Linked DNA regions of Homo sapiens: region 2 is linked to region 1. Evidence: promoter capture Hi-C in human tissues and cell types (Jung and others, 2019). All regions are on one chromosome and are shown on one strand. The core of a region is centred on a gene start or on the middle of the fragment in contact, and the rest is flanking DNA. Distances in the headings are between cores, read along the strand shown. Region 1 holds the start of TBX21 (T-box transcription factor 21). Region 2 overlaps EFCAB13 (EF-hand calcium binding domain 13).

Evidence for each region. Contacts are between HindIII fragments. The study calls those that stand out against the background at their distance.
Region 2: a fragment that was not itself captured here is called in contact with the fragment with the promoter of TBX21 in region 1 in 4 of the 25 tissues and cell types used here (adrenal gland, lymphoblastoid cells, spleen and 1 more).

What each region holds. Positions count from the first base shown.
Region 1 is chr17:47,728,316-47,734,485 of GRCh38, forward strand. TBX21 (T-box transcription factor 21) reads left to right here and starts at 4,921. Exons shown (of 6, transcript NM_013351.2): 1 at 4,921-5,630. The coding sequence starts at 5,140. RefSeq lists a promoter at 2,929-4,928, silencers at 4,740-5,279, 5,310-5,479 and an enhancer at 5,660-5,709. The HindIII fragment of the contact is 11,884 bases long and covers 1-6,170 here.
Region 2 is chr17:47,438,774-47,444,971 of GRCh38, forward strand. It overlaps EFCAB13 (EF-hand calcium binding domain 13), which reads left to right. Exons shown (of 25, transcript NM_152347.5): 25 at 1,658-2,539. The coding sequence ends at 1,941. Among named protein-coding and RNA genes, the nearest start is that of NPEPPS, 89 kb to the right of the region's middle. The HindIII fragment of the contact is 4,140 bases long and covers 1,738-5,877 here.

The DNA.
Region 1 (6,170 bases), core at 3,671-6,170:
ACCTGAAGGACACTTTGTGGATGAGCCACTAAGCCAGAGGGAGGAAAGGGCAGGTGTAAGTGGCTGGGAGTAGAGGAAAGAGGGCTTAGCACAGTTTATGCCTCTGTTTTGTTTCAGCCTTAGGACAGCATCCCTCAACCTTCACATGACAGACCCAGTCAGTCCTGGCAGAGGTCTGATAGCTCCATTTACTGACAAAAAAAACCCAGAGAGGTTAAGATACTTTAATAGGTAGCACAGCCAGTAAGGGTTGGGATTGAGGTTCCAACCCAGCCACCCAACTAAGTCTCCCCACCCCATTTCTCTCTGCCCCAGCTCCAGCACCCCCAGGCCTCTCTGCCTCTGCAGACTTTCCTCCCATTGGCCCATCTCTGTCTGTCTCCTTTCTTTCATGCCCCTCTCGCAGGCCCAGCCTGAGACTTTCCCACTGAGTCACGATCTGGGTCCCTGACTTTGTGGTCCCTGTCCCTCTCTGGGTCTAAATCTTTCTTTCAGAAATGCACCCTAAGCCTCTCACTTTGCTCTCTCTTTCTTTTCACGCCTTCTCCCCAACTCGCTGCCCCCTCTCTTTTACTATCTACCCTCTCACAGCCTCTAAGGCTCTGCCCAGCAGGGTGGAGGGTGGAAATCCTGGGTCCTGGTGCCATGCCATGCTCCACTAACAGTTTCCAGTAGGCTGGGCGTGGTGGCTGATGCCTGTAATCCCAACACTTTGGGAGGCTGAGGCGGGCAGATCACGAGGTCAGGAGATCGAGACCAGCCTGGCCAACATGGTGAAACCCCATCTCTACTAAAAATACAAAAAATTAGCCGGTCGTGGTGGCATGTGCCTCTAGTCCCACCCACCACGGGAGGCTGAGGCAGGAGAATTGCTTGAACCCGGGAGGTGGAGGTTGCAGTGAGCTGAGATCGCACCACTGCACTCCAGCCTGGGTGACAGAGCAAGTGACTCTGTCTCAAAAAACAAAACAAAACAAAACAAAACAAAAAAACAGTTTCCAGTAATAGCCGCTCCTCCCCAGCTGCCCCACCAAACCCATCCAAGAGCCTTCCAGGTGCCTAGGGAGCTCAGCACTCCATACGTTTTCAGGAGAGGACCCAGGTGGCTGGTAGACTCTGGGGTGAGGAATCATCTGGTCCTAGAGCATCAATAAGGAAATCTCAATGCCTGCAGCCACCCTCCTCAGGCATGAAACCTCCTCCACCGCCCTCAGTGTGCATACCCAGCAAGCTCAAGGCACACTGACTCGCAGGATGGGACTTGGAGATGGGACAGCAAAATGGGAGGGAGCCTGAGAGTGGGGTGCATGGACTCCCTGAAGTCCAACGCATCACCTGGAGTCCTTAAACATACAGATTCTAGAGACCCGCCACAGGCCTGGGCCTCAGAATCTCTAGAAGCAAGTCCCAGAAATCCACATCGTTGTGGCTTCCTGGCATAGTCTGCAGCCCACAGGTGAAGCAAGTGCTGTGTGACCTTCGGGGAGCCTCTCTCATTTTGAGTCTTCATGGGAAACAGTTTGAAAGGAAGCCCTGAACGTTTGCAGAGGACAACAGCGTGGAGAGAACCAGTGTCTAGGCTGTGGGATTAGGCATGATTTTCTTTTCTGTTTTCTAAACCTTTTCTTTTCTTTTTCTTTTTGTTTCTTTGAGACCGAGTCTCCCTCTGTCACTCAGGCTGGAGTGCAGTGGCACAGTCTCAGCTCACTGCAACCTCCTCCTCCTGGGGTCAAGTGATTCTCTTGCCTCAGCCTCCTGAGTAGCTGGGATTACAGGGGCCAGCCACCACACCTGCTAATTTTTATTTTTGTTTTTGTTTTTGTTTTGAGATGGAGTCTTGCTCTGTCTCCCGGGCTGGAGTGCAGCGGCACGATCTCGGCTCACTGCAACCTCTGCCTCCTGGGTTCAAGTGATTCTCCTGCCTCAGCCTCCTGAGTAGCTGGGATTACAGGCGCCCATCATGCCCAGCTAATTTTTGTGTTTTTAGTAGAGATGGGGTTTTGTCATGTTGGCCAGGGTAGTCTAGAACTTCTGGCCTCAAGTGATTTGCTGGCCTTGGCATCCCAAAGTGTTGGGATTACAGGCATGAGCCACCACGCCCGGCCTGTTTTCTAAACCTTTTCCAGTGTTAGTATGATTCTTCCTCATTCTTGTGGGAAGAGCACTGGCCTGGGAGTCAAGAGACCTGGGTTCTAGCTTCAGCTCTGCCACAAATGCACTGTGTGAGTTTGGTGTCTTATTCCATTTTGCATAGTTACCATCCACCGTGTCTCATAAAATGTGATGCTGGTTGGAGGCCATGTCTCTCTCATTCCTGGACACTTATCTTGTGTTTCTTCACTCCGGTCTCACCAGGACCAGCCTCATAATGCTCCCTGTATTGATGGGATAGAGAGGGCTGGGAGGAGCAGCCATGGGGAAGTGAGGGGATCCCAGGGGGCCTCATCTCCTCACTCCTCTTCTCCCACCTTTCCAGCCCCAGGGCCCGGGAGGAGGGTGAGGTGGCAGCTGGAGGAGAAGGTGTCACTGCCAGGGCCCTTATTCTCACCCAAGCTGGCAGAGGGGCGGGACTGGCAGCAGTGACACCAGGGCCACTCAGCCCCCGCTTTTCACAAGCACTTTCTTTTTTGGGTGGAAGAAATTGGAGAGAGGGGGTGAGAAATCGGGGATTGAGGAACCAGGCTGTAAGACCCTATAACAGCCTGTCAGGTTCTAGAGAGACCACCCCCAGCCTTCCTCTTCCTCCAGAGGCATGGCCCCAGGGCCACCTGATTCTGAGATTCATAATTCCACCTGCCCCAGAAAGCTGGGTGGGAGCTCATGTCATCCTGTTCAGAGGCAAGGGGATGAATCACTTGACCTGAGGATTAATGTGGAAAAGAGGAGGGGGAGAGAGAGGGAGGAGCAAGACTCCATTTGATCTTCAACAGCCAAGCACTGAGCAAAAATGTCCCCCAAAGGGGTGTCAGCATTCAACAGTCTCACATCTCCTAGGGAATCAGTCATTCAGGAGGGTCTTACTGAAAGCTCTCATGTTTCCCCAAAAGTAGTGAAGGATCCCAAGGTCACCCTCTCTTCCAAGCAATGCTGCCCCACTTTGAACATCAGGCAGAAACTTCCCTGTTCCTTAAGGTACGGAGAAATGGTGGGTAAGGTGTTGGGGAGGAGGCCAGTCCTGTGTTTCTGGTACTGTCATGTATCCGGTCTCCAACCTCAAAAGATGTGCTGATTCTCTCTCCCCCAAGCCTCCCTGGGTCATGCCCACCTCCTGGAGTCCCCAGCTTTGCCTTTGCCTGCCAACTTGCCTCTTGGTTCAGCTCTATTTGGGAGCAGAGAGTCCCCATAGGCCCCTAAGGGTGAAGCCCTGTCAGGCTGGGACAGAAATGTAGAGCTGGGGCCAGTTCCCAGGGGAGAACTGGGGAGGACTGGGGTGAAGGTAGAGAGAGGAGAAGTTAAACTTTAACATGACAAAAATATTAAAGTATTTTTCAAAGTACTCTTAAAAATGTAAATCTTTATCTATATACTGATATGCAAAATATTCCATGACACCTTGTGGAGTGAAAAAAAAGTACACATTATAAAGCAGCATGTGTAGTGTTTATATAAATTATATATTTGTGCATGTGTGCAAAAGACAGAGACAGAGAGTATATAAGGAGTGAGGTCTCAGAGGGTGTTCACTGAAATGTTAATCCTGTTTGGCTTTAGGGGGTGGAATTTGGGGTGATTTATACAGTCTTGTTTTTACTTTTCTGTGCTGCTTAAATTTCCTATATAAGTATGTTTCATCTTTATACACAGGAAAACTCCCAATGATGCTATTTTCAATTGGGGGGGGGGAAACGGATAGTTTTCATCATAAAAGGAGTCTAATACATTAGTTAACATAAAAGGAAAATGGAGAAAGAAAAGCCTCCATCGTCCTATCTCCGAGGCAGCCCTTCAGAGCATGTGGTGGGTTTCCTTCCTGTCAGCCGGCTCTGAATCTGTTCAAAGCAGCTTTTCCATCCAGGTATAATAATAGATTGGAAAGTGCTGCACACGTACACCCTCTCATGTAAGGCTTGCAGCCCCCCTGAAAAGTAGATCTGTTTATTTCCCCCAGTCTATGGATGAGGCACGTGAGGTTGACTTTCAGGCAAGGAAAATGACTTGCCTGGGTCACATATACCTGGCAGGCAGAGCCAGACCTGGGACTCTCAGCACTGGCAGCCCAATGCTACTTCCAGTGCCCATGACTGCCATGCAGGGTAGGGGAGCTTTTGTGGGCCCTGCCAGGCCCAGCTCAGGGCCCTGCAAACCCCTGGCTGCTGCTGATGCAGTGCGCTTTAAGGAACATTTCCTGTTGTCCATCAGGTTCCAGGTCTGCCCCCAGGGCTAGAGCTACAAGATGCAGCCAACTCAGCACATGTGGACCTCTGGTGGGGAGAAAGAGGGCAACCCGAAAGGTCACTTAGCACAGAGTCTGGGCACACAGTAGGTATCAATAAAGATCGATTGAATGTTCATGGTCAAAGTTGCTTCTAGTGTGCCCGTGCTCCGAGCCTCTGAGTGCCAGGAGAATGCCCAGCGAGTCCCACTTGGGCCATCTCGGAAGGCTTCCTGTAGGAGAGGGCCTTTGAGCTGAGACTTCAAAGCTGGGCTGAATTTCCCCGAGGGTCCAGAAGAGAGCCACGGGCTGGTGTGTCAGGCAGCGGAGCTGACACTCCCAGAAAGCAAGATCTTCGAACTACAGGGTGCGCGCAGGCTCTCGCTTCTCTCCACCATGGGGGGCCCTGCAGTACTCGCCAAGAGCGTAGAATTTGCCTAGTATTAGCCACGAGAGGGCGGGGTGGGGCGAGGCGGAGCAGGGCCGAGGTGGCGGAGTGGGGGGGAGCCGGAGAGCTTCATAAAGCCACAGCAAAGCGCTGCGACTCTAGTGACAGCGGCCCGCTGGAGAGGAAGCCCGAGAGCTGCCGCGCGCCTGCCGGACGAGGGCGTAGAAGCCAGGCGTCAGAGCCCGGGCTCCGGTGGGGTCCCCCACCCGGCCCTCGGGTCCCCCGCCCCCTGCTCCCTGCCCATCCCAGCCCACGCGACCCTCTCGCGCGCGGAGGGGCGGGTCCTCGACGGCTACGGGAAGGTGCCAGCCCGCCCCGGATGGGCATCGTGGAGCCGGGTTGCGGAGACATGCTGACGGGCACCGAGCCGATGCCGGGGAGCGACGAGGGCCGGGCGCCTGGCGCCGACCCGCAGCACCGCTACTTCTACCCGGAGCCGGGCGCGCAGGACGCGGACGAGCGTCGCGGGGGCGGCAGCCTGGGGTCTCCCTACCCGGGGGGCGCCTTGGTGCCCGCCCCGCCGAGCCGCTTCCTTGGAGCCTACGCCTACCCGCCGCGACCCCAGGCGGCCGGCTTCCCCGGCGCGGGCGAGTCCTTCCCGCCGCCCGCGGACGCCGAGGGCTACCAGCCGGGCGAGGGCTACGCCGCCCCGGACCCGCGCGCCGGGCTCTACCCGGGGCCGCGTGAGGACTACGCGCTACCCGCGGGACTGGAGGTGTCGGGGAAACTGAGGGTCGCGCTCAACAACCACCTGTTGTGGTCCAAGTTTAATCAGCACCAGACAGAGATGATCATCACCAAGCAGGGACGGTGAGTGCGGCGCGCCGGCCCTTGGGGCCTCTGTGCCCGCGCCGGAACAAGAACGTCTCGTCTGTTTTTCTGGCTCGACAATGCTTCTGACTCCGTGTCCCTCACTGCTTTGGCTTCAGCGTAGGGAGACAGGGGAATGGGGTTGTTAGGAGGACAGGGAAAGCTCCGGAGGGGCGTCTGTGCCCAGGCTGTTGCACCAACAGCCAGAGGACTCACAAGGGAGACGGGTGAGTGCGGGACAGTGAGAAGTCACCTTGATTTAGGGGAAGGGTGACTGTGGCTTCACCTAGAATTGGTGTGCGCCCCTGCCCCACTCTCTACTGTAGAGGAGTCGCAGCGGGCAGTGAAAGCCTGTGCTCTGGGCGGACAGGACGCCTGGGCCTCCTGTGTGGGAAACTGGAGGGGAAGGGAGCCCCTTATCTCCGGGCCCCCTGCGCCCACCTCCCCCGGCTCCTTTGCTGCTGGTGTGCTCAGGTCAGCTTTAGTGGTGGTAGTGGTGGTGGTAGCGGTGGTGGTGGTGTGTGTGTACGGGGGGAGATT
Region 2 (6,198 bases), core at 2,558-5,057, 290 kb before region 1:
CGTGAACTCTTTTTCAGGTAAATCAGGGATTTCTTCTTGGTTTGGATCCATTACTGGTGAACTAGTGCGATTTTCCTACCAAGCTTTATGTAATACTATTCACTTTCAGAATCTGTCCTGTACCCAGGTTCTAATATTAATTTCTGCTTCCCTCATATACCATCTCAAGACTGCTATCTTTGGCCTCCTGTATTTCCAAGCTTCTTTCTTTTATCTCCCCAGAGGTTAAGGCTTTCATCCATCAGCTCTCTGACTTGTTCTTAGTATTTCCCTACACAGCAAGGGGACTCTCTTCTTATGGGTAAACTCTCATTGATATTATCCATGTTCTGTATTATAAAGATATTTCCTTATTCTTTCTTCTATGAAATTGCCACCTGAGTTTCCTCTTTGTTTTGTTTTTTTTTTTTTTTTTTTTTTTTAGACAGATTCTTGCTCTGTCGCTCAGGCTGGAGTGCAGTGGCACATTCTCGGCTCACTGCAACCTCCGCCTTGAAGGTGCAAGCGATTCTTCTGCCTCAGCCTCCCGAGTAGCTGGGATTACAGGCTCCTGCCACCACCCCTGGCTAATTTTTGTATTTTCAGTAGAGACGGGGTTTCACCATGTTGGCCTGGCTGGTTTGGAACTCCTGACCTTAAGTGATCTGCCCATCTCAGCCTCCCAAAGTGCTGAGATTACAGGCATGAGCCACCATGTCTGGCCTGAGTTTCCTCTTTGGTGTAGGCTCTGAAGCTGACTGCGCTGGTCCTAAATTTTTATTTCCTGACTTATATGCAAATACAAATGTTTAATATTCTGCCTCTTAGTTACACTGTAGGCATGGACTATAGGTTATTTTACTTGCCTTACTTGTTAATTTGTATGGATTTTTGGAGACCACGTGGAGAGATTAAATTTATGTGTCTACTGTCATACTAAAGCAGTGTTTCTAACCTTTTTTTCTCTTGCTCCCCTAAGAAGCCTTTATAGACATTTTAGTTCCTAATTATCCCCCACCCCCATGAAAATTTAATACCACAGATATACCATATATCTGTTTAAGTACTATGGCCAGAAACTATTGTAATATCTGAGATTTTTTTTTTCTCCTAAGAACCAGTTTTACCCCTTGAGAGCAGTATCACTCTCAATGAGAATGTATGTTCTGAAAGTATCTTGAATTTTTTTTTCATTGTTGTACTGCCGAATCCTATAAGTAGTATTTTACTTATACTTTAACACATGTATGAGTAATATTGGTCTATAATTTCCCTCCCTCACCTCCTCAGTATTATATTTATTCTGTAGTTTTGTAGGCAATTAGGAGCTACTGAAGGGTTTTATGCATGGGAATAATCAATTTTTTTAAAGAGGAATACATCCCTTGACATACTGTGGAAAATAAATAGAAGATGAGACTGGTGGCATAGGTTTTTAAAGATGCCATTGTAATAATAAAGGTATTAGTTAATGCAGTAGTAAATTCAAGAAGTATTTGGAAATAAAATGAGCAGAAATTGATAATCATATGCATGCAAGAGGTAAGGGAGAAGAAATAGCCCAGCCTTACTCTCAAGCTTTTAACTTCTGTTATAATTTGACTATTAGCTTCAGCTATATTATTTAATTCTGAAACAATAATTCTTTCTTTTAAGTAAATTATGCTTTGCCTTACAGAAAGTGGCAAGGTTAGCATTCAAGAATTTATGACTAAATTATCCGATATATTGACAATTCCTAAAGCTGCAGGTAAGTTTTATTTAATATGTACTTATTGCCCAGATCTAGAAAGGCAAGCAGTGGTTTACATGTTAAAAACAATACAGGATTCGATAGTTAAAGCACAGGTAAGTAAGAAGCAATACAATATGAATATAAAACAACACAAGATTAGTTTACATAACTTCTGTTTGAATTCTAAGGCAAATATTGCTAAGCTTAACCCAAACTCAAAATTTTAGGTAGTCTTACTTGATAGTGCTAGAAAATTACTAGATTATATATTATTCAGTATGCATATTTGACTTCTGAAATTATTAGAAAATAATTTTTAAAACTTTTGACAAATCCAGTAGAATTTTTATCACTATCTGTTATGTTCTCATGTATCTTCAGCGACTCTCTTGATCACACTTTTTAAACATTCATGCTTTTTGAGGTATAATGTACATATGGCAAAATTCACTCTTTTTAGGTATACAGTTCTTTGGATTCTTAAAAATAATGTAATGTAACCCTTACTATACACAACATATAGACTATATTATCCCCCAGAAGTCTCTTATGCCCTTTTGGTAATCCATTTCTTCCTCTACCCTGAGCCCCTGGCAACTACTGATTCATTCTTTGTCCCTCTAGTTTTGCCTTTTGTGGAATATCATGTAAATGATTAAATATGAAGTGGTTTGAGTTTGGCAGTCATTGCATGCATATACCTTGAATTTACTTTGTTTATACTCTCATTTATACTACCAACCCTCCCTAGAAAAAATGGATTCTGATTGGTTCTGGTTGCAGTATTACAAATTCCAAATAAAGCTTTATTTGAGGACCCCCAAAGTTGAGGTACTGATCCCTTTGGCTGTTTGTTTCCCACTAAGTTGTGTGTGTGTGTGTGTGTGTGTGTGTGTGTGTGTGTGTGTGTGTATGTGTAACCAACATTTTGTTGAATCAACAATGTACCATTAGTAAAGCTGCTGTGCAAAATTATCCCTCAGATCTGTTCTAAACTTACAGTTTAACTGATTTTATTGTCCTCACCTAAGGTTATACAATTCATTTTTTGGAAGAAAATACTAGGACATTAAATCAAGATGGTTACTTTTGCTATTTTGCTGAAGATTCATATTTAAATATAAATGAAGAAGTTAATCTACACATTAGAAGTGTTTTAAAAAATGTTTAAATTGATACATAATTGTACTTTCATTTATACATTGTATAATAATCAAATCAGTGTAAGTAGCAACCCATTGTGAACCCCAAATATCAGAAACAGGATTCAATTAATTTAGAAAGCTTATTTTTGCCAAGGTTAAGGGTGTGCCCATGACACAGACTTAGGAGGTCCTGACACATGTGCCTAAGGTGGTTGGGGCACAGCTTGGTTTTATACATTTTAGGGAGACATGAAATATCAATCAATACATGTAAGATGTACATTGGCCAGAAGGGCAGGGGAAAGACAATTTGAAGCGGGGAATTTCCTTATGGGCAAATTGTGAGGGAGTTAATGTAGCTTCTTCTTTTATTTTATTTTATTTTATTTTATTTTATTTTTTATCTCTGTTGCTATCTCCTTTAGGAATAGAATGGGAGGTAGGTTTGCCTGACACAGTTCCCAGCTTGACTTTTCCCTTTGGCTTAGTGATTTTGGGATACCGAGATTTATTTTCCTTTCACACCATCAGCTCAAACATTTATCATTTCTTTGTAGTGAGAACATTCAATACATTATTAACTATAGTCACCCTTTAATTTTTAAATAGACAAATACAAATTGTATGTACTGTATATTGCATGATTCAAAATATGTACATACATTGTGGAATGGCTAAATTGAATTAATTAACGTGTTTTACCTCACATACCTATTTTTGTGATGAGAACACAAAATCTTTTCTCTTAGCAATTTTCAAAAATATTATACATTGTTATTAACTGTAGTCACCATGTTATACAACAGAGCTCTTAACCTTATTGATTTTCTAATATTTTATTAAAGATTTTTGAGAGTATGTTTATGAGGGATATTGGTCTATAGTTTTCTTTTAGTGTCTTTTCCAGATTTTTTTGTTAGGGTTATGCTGACCTCATAAAATGAGTTGGGAAGTCTTCCCTCCCTTTTTTATTTCTGGTTGAGTTTGTGCATTAGTTGGTTCTAATGCTGCTAATAAAGAAATATCTGAGACTGGGTAAGTTATAAAAGAAAGAGGTTTAACTGACTCACAGTTCCATATGGCTGGGGAGACCTCACAATCATGGTGGAAGGCGAATGAGGAGCAAATTCACCTCTTACATGGCGGCAGGCAAGAGGGCTTGTGCAGGGGAACTCCCATTTATAAAAACCATTAAATCTCGTGAGACTTATTCACTTATGGGGACACTGCCCCCATGATTCGATTATGTCCACTGGCCCCACCCTTGACACTTGAGGATTATTACAATTCAAGGTGAGATTTGGGTGGGGACACAGCCAAACCATATCAGTTTATGATTATGATTAGGATTATTGTTTTCATTAAATGTTTGGTAGAATTCACCATCTATTCCTGAAGATTTAAAATATTGAGCTCTATTTATTCAATGGATATATAGCTCTTTAGAGCCTCCCTCTTCTAAATCTTTCTGTAGTTGTCACTATATCTTTCTGTAAGTATCATAAAGAAGAAATATACTTTCTATAAGTGGAACTGTGTCTTGTCAAAGTTTATTTTATGTAATTTGTCAGGTTTATTGTCATGAAATTGTTCATAATATCCCCTTATTATCCTTTTAATGTCTATAGTGTGATGTCTTATTTTTCATTCCTGATGTTTGTAATTTCTATTTTCTCTTTTTTGTTTGTAACCAGTCTTGCTAGGGAGTTATTAAATTTATTAATAATTTTACACAAATGGTGATTTTGTTAATTTTTGTTAACTTTTCTCTTTTGTTTTTCTTTTTCATTGGTTTATATTTTTATTGTTACTATCATTTGGTCTTTGTTTACTTTGGGCTTCATTTACCCTTCTTTGCTAGCTTGTTAAGATAGAAGCTTAGATAACTGATTTTTATCCTTTTCTAACATTAAAACTGCAAATTTTCCCCTAATATGTCTTTCATTGCATCTCACAAACGTTGTTATGTTGTGCTTTTTATCATTTACTAAAATATTTTCTAATTTACCTAATGATTTTTTCTTTGAAGTGTAGGTTATTTAGAAATGTAGTCTTTAATTTCCAAATATTGGGACATTTTCTAGATATCTTAATTATTATTGATTTCTAATTTATTTATTTCTTTTAGGGAGAGGGTCTTGCTTGTTGCTCAGGCTGGAGTGCAGGTGGCATGATCATGGTTCACTGCAGCCTCCAACTCTTGGGCTCAAGCAACCTCTTGCCTCAGCCTTGCAAGTAACTGGGACTACAGGCACACACCATTACACCTGGCTAATTTTAAACATTTTTTCTGTAGAGATGGGGTCTCATTTTGTGTTCCAGGCTGGTCTTGAGCTCCTGGGCTCAAGCATTTCTCCTGCCTTGGCCTCCCCAAGTGTTGGGATTATAGTTGTGAGCCACTGTGCCAAGCCTGATTTCTAATTTAATACATTTGGCCAGAGAATATATTTTGCATGATTTAAATTCTTAAATTAATTAAGATTTATTTATAGCCCTGGTTATGGTCTATCTAAGTGAATGTTCCATGTGTACCTGAAAGAATGGCTTGAACTCGCGGGGAGGAGGTTGCAGTGAGCCAAGATTGCACCACTGCACTCCAGCCTGGGCAACAGAGTGAGACTCCATCTCAAAACAAAAGAAAAAAATTTTTTGGTTAAGAGTTTAGATAAAGGAAAAAACTCCATTTAAATGTTTCTGTGAAGAAAACCATAATGGATTACATGGCACAACAACAGTTTCAAAAAATTAAAACCAATTTGTAAACATTAATCATCACGGTTACTTATATGCCCTTAAAAATGATCTATATGCTCCTAGTGTCACATAAGACACGTTAATCTAGGAGTCTACTTCACTCAGACTTTTTGCAACTAACATGCATTCTTTGTTTCTTCATCACTGTGGGGAAGAGGTGGTACATACAAAAGGTTCTTGACATAACCCTATAAAAAGATGATCACATGGTGTATTATCTGGGAATTTAAATGGTCACAATTCCAGGATACGTCAATGCTATCAACTTTAAAAAATAAATAAATTTGACCTATAATGGGGGGGCCAGCCGGGGGTAGGGGAGAAAGAGGCAAACTGTGTATCCTGGAACTTTGTAACTGGAAAAAAATTAGCAGCAGCAGCAGCCTGATCAAAACTGCAACTTCTTGCCCACCTGGACAACCCAGCTCTCTTTTCTAGAAATTAGCATCTATGCTCAATTTCTAATAATGGAATGGTGCCTAGGTACTCATGTTTGTCTAGGTGAAAACAGCTTCTAAATCCAGGTGCTTACATCAGAATTGCTCTCCTGGAAATTTAGGACTGAGACATTGAGTCACTTACCTG